Regions from separate parts of the Homo sapiens genome. Here all the other regions are linked to region 3. Evidence: promoter capture Hi-C in 16 types of primary human blood cells and fetal thymus (Javierre and others, 2016). All regions are on one chromosome and are shown on one strand. The core of a region is centred on a gene start or on the middle of the fragment in contact, and the rest is flanking DNA. Distances in the headings are between cores, read along the strand shown.

Region 1 (3,107 bases), core at 208-2,707, 450 kb after region 3:
GATGAAATGAAAACACAACATATTAATTTGTGGGATGCTACTTAAGCAGAACTTAAGGGGGAAATTTATACATAAAATGCCTACATTGAAAGAAGAAAAGGGGTCTCAAATTGACTTAAAGAACTTAAAGAACTAGGAAAAAAAAAAGAGCAAATTAAACCAAAGTAAACAGAAGAAAGGGAGTGATAAAGTTCAAATCAACGAAACAGAAAACAGAAAAATAAAGTCAATAAAACCAAAGACTTTTTTTTGAGAATAAAACTGATAAACCTCTAGGCAAACTGATCAGGAAAAAAGAGAAGACACAAATTATCAATGTCAGGAATGAGAGAAGTGACACCACTACAGGCAATACAGATAGAAAAGGTCAACAAAGGAGCATTATGAACAACTTTGTGCCTATAAATTCAGTAACTTAGATGAAATGGACAAATTCCCTGAAAAACACAAACAATTAAAGCTCATTCAAGAAGTAGATAACCAAAAATAGCTCTATGTCTACTAAAGAAATAGAAATTTTAATTGAAAATCTTCCCACAGGTTGGGCGCGGTGGCTCAGGCCTGTAGTCCCAGCACTTTGGGAGGCCAAGGTTGGTGGATCACCTGAGGTTGGGAGTTCGAGCCCAGCCTGACCAACATGGAGAAACCCCATCTCTACTAAAAATACAAAATTAGCCGGGCATGGTGGCGCATGCTTGTAATCCCAGCTACTTGGGAGGCTGAGGCAGGAGAATTGCTTGAATCTGGGAGGTGGAGGTTGCGGTGAGCCAGGATCACACCATTGCATTCCAGCCTGGGCAGCAAGAGCAAAACTCCATCTCAAAAAAAAAAAAAAAAAAAAAAAAAAAGAAAGAAAACCTTGCCACAAAGAAACTCTAGGCCCAGATGCCTTCACTGGTGAATTCTACAACACATTTAAGGAATAAATAATATGAATACTGTACTACACAAACTCTTACAGAAAACCAGAGGAAATACCTCCTAACACCTCATTCTGTGAGGCCAGGATTACCCTGATACCAAAACCAAACAAACATATTATAAGAAAATAAAACTACAGACCAATATCTATCACAAACACAGAAGTAAAAAAATTCTAGACAAAATATTAGCAAATTGAATTCAATAATATATAAAAAGGATAATACCTCACGACCAAGGAAGGTTTATCCAGGAATGCAAGGTTGGCTTAAAAAGGAAAATCAAGTTCCAGGTCCACAGACTAAGAACTGGAGAGCAGGAAGAGACCTTAGAGATCATGAACTTGAAGCTGAAGTCATTGATTTGGGACCCTTTTTCTTCTTTTCAACCTAGGCATTTTATGTATAAATTTCCCCCTTAAGTTCTGCTTCAGTGGCATCCCACAAATTTTGTTGTGTTTTCATTTCATCTACTTCAGAATGCTTTCTAATTTCCCTTTAGATTCTTTTGACCCATGAGCTATTTAAGAAGTACGTTATTTAGAAGTACAAATATTGAGGGCTTTTCCAAATATCTTGGTTGCTGATTTCCAAATTCCATTATGCCCAGAGGCCACATCTTGAATCCTTTTAAAATCCTCTGTACCAAATAAAATTAGGAAATAGGTCCAGGTTTTGCTTCTGTCACGGGTGAGATTTTTTAGTGTGTCTCTAAAGGTTGGTACGGGCTTTTTTTTTGCCAACAGGTGAAAAGGGCAAGAGTGACTACACTATGCAAGAATTTGTTTGTGGGTTAGTCTGGTTTCAAAGAGAAAAACCATGTTTAGAATCAGAACTTAGCTTAGCAAGTTAATTTCTACTGTCCCAGGAAATGATGAGGAACTGAGACACACAGGGCTAAGATCACATAGCCAATTAGAAGTTGATCCTTAAGGCTGAACTTGGATACTCAGGCAACAGCAGAAGAACATATTTTACTGTTTTTCATTATTTGGTCGCCACATATCATGTAATTTGGTTACTTTGAGAGGAAGTATGGTATGATGCTTCTGGGGTTGAAAAGTCCTGGGTTTGATCTGTCTCCTGTAGTCTTGGGCATGTAATTTATCATCTCCTAAATGGAGATAATAATGGTGTCTGCATTGCAGATTAGTCGTGAGTATTAAATCAGATAATGTGTCTAAAGCACTCAGCAAACATATGGAACTTCCCAACAAATATTACTATTACTCCACCAGCACCACTGCCTATTACCACCATATTTGTATTATGAGGACACCAAATTTAAGTTAGAAGCAAAGGACAGAAACTATGCAGTCTACTTTTTTTTTTTTTGTGGAGACGGAGTCTCACTCTGTTGCCCAGGCAGGAGTGCAGTGGCTGATCCTGACTCACTACAACCTCCACCTCCTGGGTTCAAGCGATTCTCTTGCCTCAGGCTGAGGCGATTCTCTTGCCTCAGCCTCCCGGTAGCTGAGATTACAGGCACTAATCCCACGCCCAGCTAATTTTGTACTTTTAGTAGAGATAGGGTTTCACCATGTTAGCCAGGCTGGTCTCAAACTCCAGACCTCAGGTGATCTGCCCGCCTCAGTCTCCTAAAGTGTTGGGATTACAGGTGTGAGCCACTGCACCAGGCTACTATGCAGTCTACTCTTGCTAGACACTCCCTTGAAGCCACCCAGACTCAGGAACCCCAAACAAAGGGGAAAGAAAGTCAGACTATTGCTGGCTTAGCCATTTCTCTGTCTCTGGTCTGGACTCTTCTGAGAATAAAACCTTTTACATGAGTGGCCTATTTCCTTTTGTTACATACACTGGCTGTTCTCTCCCAATTACCTGTTTTCCTGTCCACAGCGGAAAGGGCTTCAGGATGGAAGGAGAAAGGAGCTTCACGCGCCCCACTTTGTCCGTGAGTCCTCGGTACACCAGCTCCATATAGTGCTCCCGGGTGAAAAAGCAACCCCGAGTAGTCATGCTTGCCCCTGAAACCATGTGATCCTGGATCAGTCCCGCCAATGGTTGGCCATCCTATAAGCCAAAACAGACAACACAAGAAGAATGAAAATAAATCTTAAGTCAAACTCTAATCCCTAATCGCCTGCCTGGAAGCCACTTTCTATCAAGAGCCCTTCTTATATCCCTGTCTTGTCTTGCCCACATCCTCACTATGTTCTTGCTTGGGAG
Region 2 (2,710 bases), core at 125-2,624, 430 kb after region 3:
TAATCTTCAAATTCCCACCAGTGACCCTGAGATGTCCTCAAATTACACAGCACAGATCCCAGCTGGGTGGCTGAAGCTCTAGACATTCATGCTTGGACTCCTCATGTTTGCCCCCAGAATGTCACATATCCACTCTGGGACTGTTACCACAAGCCCCCTAAGCAGGAGAATTTCTGGGTTCATTATTCACTTTTTCCTTTATCCATTCTTTCTTCTCAATTATGACAATTTGGAGACAGTTTAAACCTCCTGCTATAAAAATTAGAAAGAGGTTCACTAGGCCATTATGGGGATGGGGGTGATGAGAGTGTTTATATTTTTAGTTAGTGCAAATGGCTGCAGACCACATCAGAAGTATTCATGCCGCACGATTCTGTAATTTACTAACCATTTTTCCTATGAAGCCTGACCCTGTTAAGAACAGCCACTAGGAGCGCTGAGCTACACTGTGTGTGTGTGTGTGTGTGTGTGTGTGTGTGTGTGTGTGTGCGCGCTGAGCTACAGTGTCTGTGTGTGTGTGTGTGTGTGCTGAGCTACAGTGTCTGTGTGTGTGTGTGTGTGTGTGCTGATCTACAGTGTCTGTGTGTGTGTGTGTGTGTCTGTCCTAGTCCAAGCTGAGGCCTTCAAATGGGAACCCAAAGCTCAAAGGTGTGTGTGTGTGTGCGCGCGCGCGCTGAGCTACAGTGTCTGTGTGTGTGTGTGTGTGTGTGTCTGTCCTAGTCCAAGCTGAGGCCTTCAAATGGGAACCCAAAGCTCAAAGGATTACTGGAGTAATCGGATCCAAGGCCTCATGAGAAGTTAAGACCTGGTGTCCCTGGGCATGAATGACCTGCCCTGGGTCACACGGTTGGCAGCAGGTGAACAGTGACCAGATTCCCTGACTCTCAGTCAGCCCCACCCACCACACCAAACCCAAGAGAGCAGACTTTCCTGCAAGCCTCCCAGCAGACCACTATCCCTATCTTGGCCCAGATGGGGGTGTCCACTCCTGCCTCCCTTGCACTTGTTCACTCCTGGGCCCTTGGGGCTTGTGCGTTGCCCCTGGCTGTCTTACTGCCCTCCCTCTAGCTGAAGTCTCAAACCCAGGAGGCAGCCCTCTTCCGGAGTGAGTAGGGCAGGGGCTAGGAGGCAGGGGCTAGGAGGCAGATTCTCCTGCACATGTTGTGCAACAAATCACTGTCAATACCTGTCGAGAGAAAGCTCTGATTTCTCATAACTCTTCTCTGTTTGAGCTGCCCACTCTTGACTGTAGTCATCAACCTTTGTTTCAAATGTTTCTGACACTGATGCAAAGTAGATGTCAGGACGCCAGACAGACAGACTGGGGTCAGGACAAGCGGCCGCCTTCTTCTGGTATTTCCTTCGGCTTTCCTCATCCAACTCATACCACATCCTCAGCATCTGAACAGAAGGATGGGTCTCAGCTATGTGGGAGGGATACCCAGTAGCATAAGAGGGATCAAAAGCATTGGCTTCCAATGAGAATAAAGGGAGACAGAAAGAAACCTGATTGCAATGAGAAACCATCTCCCCATTTAAAATGGGGAGAGACTTCAACCTGTCCTAGGGCACCCTGCTTGACTATAAGCCTAGCAGCTCTTCATCCTGGCCCATTCAAGCCCAGGGAGGGCAAGCATGTAATTTACTGAGCAAACTGGGCTTCTTTTAGAGTGAAACAGGAGACTGTTATGATTAGGCTAGGACAAGAGGCAAAGCCACGACTGTCTCAGGCCAGCTAGGATGCAGTCACTGTGCTGGATCCATGGTTATTTCTGGATCCAGGCTCTTTCACACGCTCTGTGCCCTCAAGGCTGTCCCAAAGTGACTGCTTCAAAGAGATCCCCTGCTTCCAGCTCCCAGGTGTGCTTGGCTGATGGGAGGCACCAGCAGCAGAGGGAAAGGCAGGAGGAAGGGGATCCTGGTATTTATCCTCAACCCCCCTCTAGTGGGTCTCTACCCAGGGCTCTGTCCAGTGGCCCTAGCACATAGTCGTCCTCTCCGTTTCTCATGACTGCTCCCCATTCCTTCACACCTGGGATCGCGGGGAACCCCGAAGTCACAGGCCCCAGTTAGTCCCCCCAAACCCTGCCTACACCCTTGTTAAGAGTCCCCACCTTACATTCCCATTTGAGAGCCATTCTGTTCTGACTGACGGTGAACAAAGCTGGAGTTCATGATTCTACCTTCTCTTAGGAAAACAGCCCCTCATCCCTCACCCACTGACTAAGCCTGGACGTGCTGGACATTAAGGACACCACCTCCCTGCATCACCTCCTGAGTCCCAGGGCTGCGGCCATTGCGGTTTTCACTCTCAAGTTTCAGGGCTTTCACAGCTTCCTGAATTTTCTGGGAATAACTCAAGAAGGCGCCTCTTCTCAGCAGGGTGTTGGGGTGCTTGCTTTGCCATTTTTTGATAGCTCTGAAGTGGTGGAGAGCTTTTTTGGGATCTGCTCTGGATAAAACTTCATGGAGATGCTGTGATTTCATTATCACCTAAACAAACAAACAAAAAAACAAACAAACAAATCACACACATGAGATCAAAGAGATGAGGGCGTGACAAGAGGGCCATGGAGCACAAATTCAGGGGACCCAGGTGGCTGGTGTGGAGCCCTCATGATGGGGCCGAGCACCACTCTCAGAGAGGCTGAGCATCCATTGTTAATCAGGGCCCTCACTTTGTGCAAACCAGATTTGGGAACCAATGGTC
Region 3 (2,777 bases), core at 183-2,682:
GCCTAACAAAGGTAGTGGCACACACCTATAATCCCAGCACTTTGGGAGGCCGATGCGGGCAGATCACCTGAGCTCAGGAGTTCGAGATCAGCCTGGACAACGTGGAGAAACCCCTTCTCTCTCTCTCTTTTTTTTTTTTTTTTGAGACCGAGTCTTGCTGTGTTGCCCAGGCTGGAGTGCAGTGGCGCGATCTCGGCTCACTGCAAGCTCCGCCTCCCGGGTTCACGCCATTCTCCTGCCTCAGCCTCCCGAGTAGCTGGGACTACAGGCGCCCACCACCACGCCCGGCTAATTTTTTGTATTTTTAGTAGAGACGGGGGTTTCACCATGTTAGCCAGGATGGTCTCGATCTCCTGACCTCGTGATCCGCCCGCCTCGGCCTCCCAAAGTGCTGGGATTACAGGCGAGAGCCACCGCGCCCAGCCGGGGAAACCCCTTCTCTACAAGAAATACCAAAATTAACCGGTGTGGTGGCACACGCCTGTGGTCCCAGGTACTCGGGAGGCTAAGGCTGCAGTAAGCCCAGATCGCACCATTGCACTCCAGCCTGGGCGACAGAGACCTAGTCTCAAAAATAAAATAAAAACATTTTAAAAAAAGTAATAATGCTTAACAAAAATTGACCGTCATATATTAACCAGTGTGATCTCTAGGTAGCAGAGAAGCTGGGGAAAGGCCATTTACTGGGTTCATTCCGCAATTATGTGCTGGTCGCTCATCGCTGTGCCAGACTTTCTCTTTGCTAGGTAGCGGAGCACCTTACTAAAATACAGCACGGTGGGGCAAACCGGCAGATAAACTTCTTGCTGGCTCCCCGATACTCTGACAGCGATGCTTAACTGGGGGCTTATGAGTCGTCCCAGTTCTTGGTGAGAATCATTCAGCGGAGATTTGGGAGCGCTGAGGTGGAGGTTCCGGAAAGAGACGAGATGAGCTGAACCTTAGGAGTAAGAAGTGGTTTTTCCCTATAGAGAAGGGGAGTGCGTTGCAGGAAGAGCGCGCGGGCTGGAGGCAGGCGGGGCGGGCGGCCTCACCTCGGTGTCGCGGCAGGTACACCTGCAGGTCTGGCTTGCGGGGCCGCGTCGGCGCGGGCGTGTGCCGCCTCCTCACCTTCTCCTTGGCCGCCTGCTTCACCTTCTTGTCATAGTCGTCCCTGCGGGGAGCCGAGCGGGAGTCAGGGACTGTCGGGCCGGGCCAGGCCAGGCCAGGAGTGGTGGCGGCGGCGGCGCAGGGCGGGGCGGTACCGAGCGATCTGGTTCCGTCGGATATGGTGCACGAAGCCGTGGTTCATGTCCAGCCGCCCCCCAGGCTTGCAGCAGTGCCCCGGCCGGGGATGCGGCCCCGCCTCCATCAGGAGCCGGGGACGCAGAGTCGCCGCCGCCTCGACGGCCCCAACAACAGCCACCCGCCCACAGAGCTCCGCGCCGCCCCTTGCTCAGCTTCCGGCCCCGCATCCTGACTTCCGGTCTGGGAGGCCCCGGCCTGGCCAAGCGATGCAGCGCACGGAGTTTTCGGGTCTGGTCGGGTCGGGTGGAGTAGGGTATGCTTGACTTCCACCCCCCGGACGGAGGGCTTTTGTTTTTGTTTTTTTTTGTTTGTTTTTTCGTAACATATCAATAGGAAACAAGGACTTCGGCTTACAGCTGATACCAGAACCTTCAGAAAAATGCAAATCATCTATAACACAACTCGATGCTTACGGCGGTGCCTTCCCATCTTTTTTCTGGTAATAGGATGCTGTGCAATCCATCGCCATCTGCGTGACTTTGGCTGACTGTGTAACGCTGCCACTTCTCAGTTTCCTCATTAGTAAATGGGAACACCTAGAGCACCTACCTCAAATGGATTGTGAGGCCTTGAAGTGCTCAGGCAGGGCAACAGCGGCGCCCAGGCCGCAGGCGCCGCGAAGGCTCTCCTGGCCCGGCTTGCCTCCTGCTCACGGCGCCGATGGCTTAACTGTCCCCGCGGGAGGACCCAGGGTTTTTGAGGGACCTACGGGTGTATTATTTTCTTTTTTATTTATTTTTCCTTTTTTTTTTCTTTTTGAGAAGGAGTCTCACTCTGTCGCTCAGGCTGGAGTGCATTGGCGTGATTTCGGCTCACTGCAACCTCCGCCTCCCGGGTTCAAGCGATTCTCCTGCCTCAGCCTCCCGAGTAGCTGGGACTACATGCGCGTGCCACCACGCCCGGCTAAGTTTTGTATTTTTGGTAGAGATAAGGTTTCACCACGTTGGCCAGGCTGGTCTCGAACTCCTGACCTCAGGTGATCCGCCTGCCTCGGCCTCCCAAAGTGTTGGGATTGCAGGCATGAGCCACCGTGCCCGGCCCCTTTTTTTTTTTTTTCTATTTTTTCTGACCACTGGGTTCACGTCACAGCGTGTAAAATTCTCAAGTCCTTTTACAAAAGTCAAAATCAGGAATTCATGATTAGGACAGGGACAAACGGCTGGATGCAGTGGCTCATGTCTGTAATTCCAAAACTTTGGGATGCCGAAGTGGGAGTATCGCTGGAGGGAGGAATTTGAGACCAGCCTGGGCAACACAGCGAGACATCGTCTCTACAAGAAAAAAATACATTAAAAAAGAAAGAAAGAGCCGGGCGTGGTGGCTCACGCCTGTAATCCCAGCACTTTGGGAGGCCCAGGCGGGCAGATCAAGAGGTCAGGAGTTCGAGACTAGCCTGGCCAAAATGGTGAAACCCCGTCTCTACTAAAAAAAAATACAAAAAATTAGCTGGGCTTGATGGCCGGTGCTTGTAATCCCAGCTACTTGGGAGG
Region 4 (2,850 bases), core at 1-2,500, 260 kb before region 3:
CCCTGTCTCTACTAAAAATACAAAAATTAGCTGGGCATGCCCACTACTCGGGAGGCTGAGGCAGGATAATCACTTGAACCCAGGAGGCGGAAGTTGCGGTGAGCGGAGATCGCGCCACTGCACTCTAGCATGGACAATAGAGCGAGACTCTGTTTCAATAAATAAATAAATAATGCCAGTTGCAACTCACTAAATTGATTTCATAGCCCACTAATAGATCACAATCCGGTTTGAAAAGCAGTTAAGCTAGTCATCTCATTTTTAGACCAGCCCAGGTAGGTGCTAATGGTTATGCAGCAAATTAGTGACAGAGTCCAAGCTAAAACTCAGTTCTCAGAAGTCCAGATGATTAGTCCTTCCACTTAGAACAGTACTGTCTCCGATTGTGTAGCAAGATATGACACGGAGAATTCTAAAATTTACAAGTGAGAGGGACTCCGTAGATCAAACAGGTGATCCATTATTTTTTAAAGCAGCAGAACTCTTTAAACTCTAGAAGCAACCACAAAATATGTTTTAAAGATGAGAGTGGAGAGCAGGCTCTGAGCCTGAGGCGCCTTGTTGAACCTCTGCCAATGTTTCAGAACTAGGGTTCAATCCTTACGATTTGGGACCATGCAAAGCCTGTTAAATCACCGGACGGGCAAAACGCAATTTCCTACGCATTTCTGTGCTGCTCCCCCACACCCCTGAGCTCGCATGGGAGGGTAGGTGAAAAAGTTAAGGTCCTGGAACCAAGTGGAGGAATGAGTCACGGGGATTATCAGTTCCACGAGCCACGGGGATTACAAGTGGCAGGGCGGGTGCCAACACCTTGCAAACCAAGGACAATGACCACACCCTTGGGACTACTATTCCCGGGGCCTACTAGGGCAAAGGCTATCGACAGTGTTGCACACTAAAGCGGGGCTCCTCCACGTGCAAGGAAGCCCTCCTAGTACTTTACATATGGGGAAACTAAGGCCCACGTCTGGTAGCGGCTGCCTTGGCAAAATGAGAACCCAAATCTGTGAGAAAGCCTCGAGTGCAGCCCCGGACCCCAGGGTCCCTCCTGCTACCTTGTTTGAGAACCTTCTTCCTGGCCTCCTTGTCAGTTACCAGGGGCGCTGGGGGCCGTTTGACATCTTCGGAGAAAGGATTCGGGGAGCTGCCAGAGAATAGTCCCAAGTAAACTTTGCAGAGGACGGCCAGCAGCAGCACAGCCAGGAGCAGCACCAGCGGAAGCCACATCACGCCGGCGTCGGGTCGGGTAAATGGGACAGCTCCGACTGCGCTCAGCCTCTAGGACTGTGGCTCCGCCCGGGCTAGTTCGCTCTCCAGTCAGGAGGCGGAGGCAGCTTTGAGCACTGATTAACCAGCCAGCCAGCGAAGAGCCAACTCTCAGGTGATGATTGACCCTCCCGGCTCTCCGTACTTCTTTTGGGTTTCCATTGCCTACTGGGAAATGTAGTTCTCGGGGCCAGGGGAGCCGGCACGGAAGCGGCTGTGCGCATGAGCAGATGAGGCCTAGCCGAGGCGGCGGGACCCCCAAGTTTGGAAAGCTCTTTTAACGGTGAGAACGCGTTAACACTTGCCAAGGGGAGTGGTTGGTGCCTGTGCGGAGCTAGCAGCCGGCCTGAGGAGGGAGGGAGAATGTGATCCGGTGGAAATTATCACTATGGGGCGAGACAAGGCCGAGAGTTGTAAGACTGAAAGAGAATCCCGACTGGGAGACAGGAGTCCTGAGTTCTGGTCCTGGCTCTGCCCTGGACTCGCTGCCTTGAGGTGTTAAATTGCTTTCCTCGTCTTACGCCTCCAGGCTATGCGAAAGTTCTGTCCAAAGGCTGCTCACAGCCCCTGTCTGACTGGTTGTCATGATGAATTGAGCTCTCTGTTACCTGCGCATCACAACCGGTGAGCGTCTGTCTCTGTGCCCCTCAAAGTGGCCCATAGTTTTGTCCTGGGGGCCCGCCTGGGACGGAGTCCTCTATGGCGGGTCCCTAATGACACCCCATCCGTGGGGAACCTGGGGGACGGGGAGCCGCCCATGGACAAGCATGGTGAAAGGATCAGCTAAGGGCCCATCTAATTTAAATTCCTATGCAGAGAATCTAACCTCCAGCAAGCAGTTGAAGAATCATACCCCCTCCTTGCCTAAAGAGGGTGCATAATGAATACTTGATTGGAGAAGGATCCATTTTTACAGGAAGGCCGTTTCCTTAGGTCCAACTATCAGGAATTTGCCTTTGAGTACTTCCTTGTTTAATGGAATTGTTGCTCTTTTCTTCTCTGCTACAGATAGTAACTGTCCCTACTGAAGGCCCCAGGAGTGCTCCAGCCAGGTGTGGAAAGCTGGTCACGATTCTATGCTACTTGGTTCATTTTCTACACAGCAACAGAAGAGCCCTCCTGAGATTGCTATTACCATACCCGCCTGTCACCTTGCCAAGGCTGGCCAATGTGTGTTTTGTCATAGGCTGTCATGGAGGCCATGATGGAGGAAAAGGAAAGGGGAGGCAGATGTTGAGGCCCCAGAGGCCACAGTGAGAGCAGTTTAGTTCCTGGGGTGCCAGGACTAAGGGGGCATTGCCCTGTCCCCCGGATTACAGTGAGCCACATGTCAAGCCCAAGAGCCAGGAGGTATTCTTCCTCTCAGTGTTAATAATCAAAGCATCCTGACACCAGCAGCCAGTTTTTATGGCATCCTGGAGGGCTGACCTCATAGAGAGGCTACCCTCCTTCCTTAGTCACCCAAAGTTGTGAACTATGATTGTCAGTTGTGTGTGGGCCATCTGCCCACTTAGGATGCAATTTTTGATGTGACAGACATTCCGGATGTCCAATTCCCCTGTGATGAGGTATGAGCCTTGT

Evidence for each region. The method cuts DNA at HindIII sites, captures the fragments that hold promoters and counts their contacts. A CHiCAGO score of 5 or more calls a contact.
Region 1: a fragment that was not itself captured here is called in contact with the fragment with the promoter of C2orf68 in region 3 in 3 of 17 cell types (M0 macrophages, erythroblasts and M2 macrophages); the score reaches 5.8 in M0 macrophages.
Region 2: a contact is called between a fragment that was not itself captured here and the fragment with the promoter of C2orf68 in region 3, in 1 of 17 cell types (neutrophils). The highest score is 6.1, in neutrophils.
Region 4: the fragment with the promoter of RETSAT here is called in contact with the fragment with the promoter of C2orf68 in region 3 in 1 of 17 cell types (erythroblasts); the score reaches 5.0 in erythroblasts.

The regions. Positions count from the first base shown.
Region 1 is chr2:86,062,515-86,065,621 of GRCh38, forward strand. It overlaps POLR1A (RNA polymerase I subunit A), which reads right to left. Exons shown (of 34, transcript NM_015425.6): 14 at 2,760-2,951. Among named protein-coding and RNA genes, the nearest start is that of POLR1A, 42 kb to the right of the region's middle. The HindIII fragment of the contact is 7,905 bases long and covers 1-3,107 here.
Region 2 is chr2:86,040,703-86,043,412 of GRCh38, forward strand. It overlaps POLR1A (RNA polymerase I subunit A), which reads right to left. Exons shown (of 34, transcript NM_015425.6): 23 at 2,272-2,493; 24 at 1,187-1,401. Among named protein-coding and RNA genes, the nearest start is that of POLR1A, 64 kb to the right of the region's middle. The HindIII fragment of the contact is 5,837 bases long and covers 1-2,710 here.
Region 3 is chr2:85,610,634-85,613,410 of GRCh38, forward strand. It overlaps C2orf68 (chromosome 2 open reading frame 68), which reads right to left and starts at 1,433. Exons shown (of 4, transcript NM_001013649.4): 1 at 1,245-1,433; 2 at 1,035-1,153. The coding sequence starts at 1,351. It also overlaps a transcript of USP39 not described here. RefSeq lists silencers at 1,204-1,585, 1,205-1,274, 1,761-1,933 and an enhancer at 1,545-1,774. The HindIII fragment of the contact is 26,854 bases long and covers 1-2,777 here.
Region 4 is chr2:85,353,278-85,356,127 of GRCh38, forward strand. It overlaps RETSAT (retinol saturase), which reads right to left and starts at 1,251. Exons shown (of 11, transcript NM_017750.4): 1 at 1,059-1,251. The coding sequence starts at 1,230. ELMOD3 (ELMO domain containing 3) reads left to right here and starts at 1,492. Exons shown (of 14, transcript NM_001135022.2): 1 at 1,492-1,552; 2 at 1,799-1,893; 3 at 2,278-2,321. RefSeq lists enhancers at 1,253-1,754, 1,319-1,718, 1,755-2,254, 1,889-1,948. The HindIII fragment of the contact is 19,367 bases long and covers 1-2,850 here.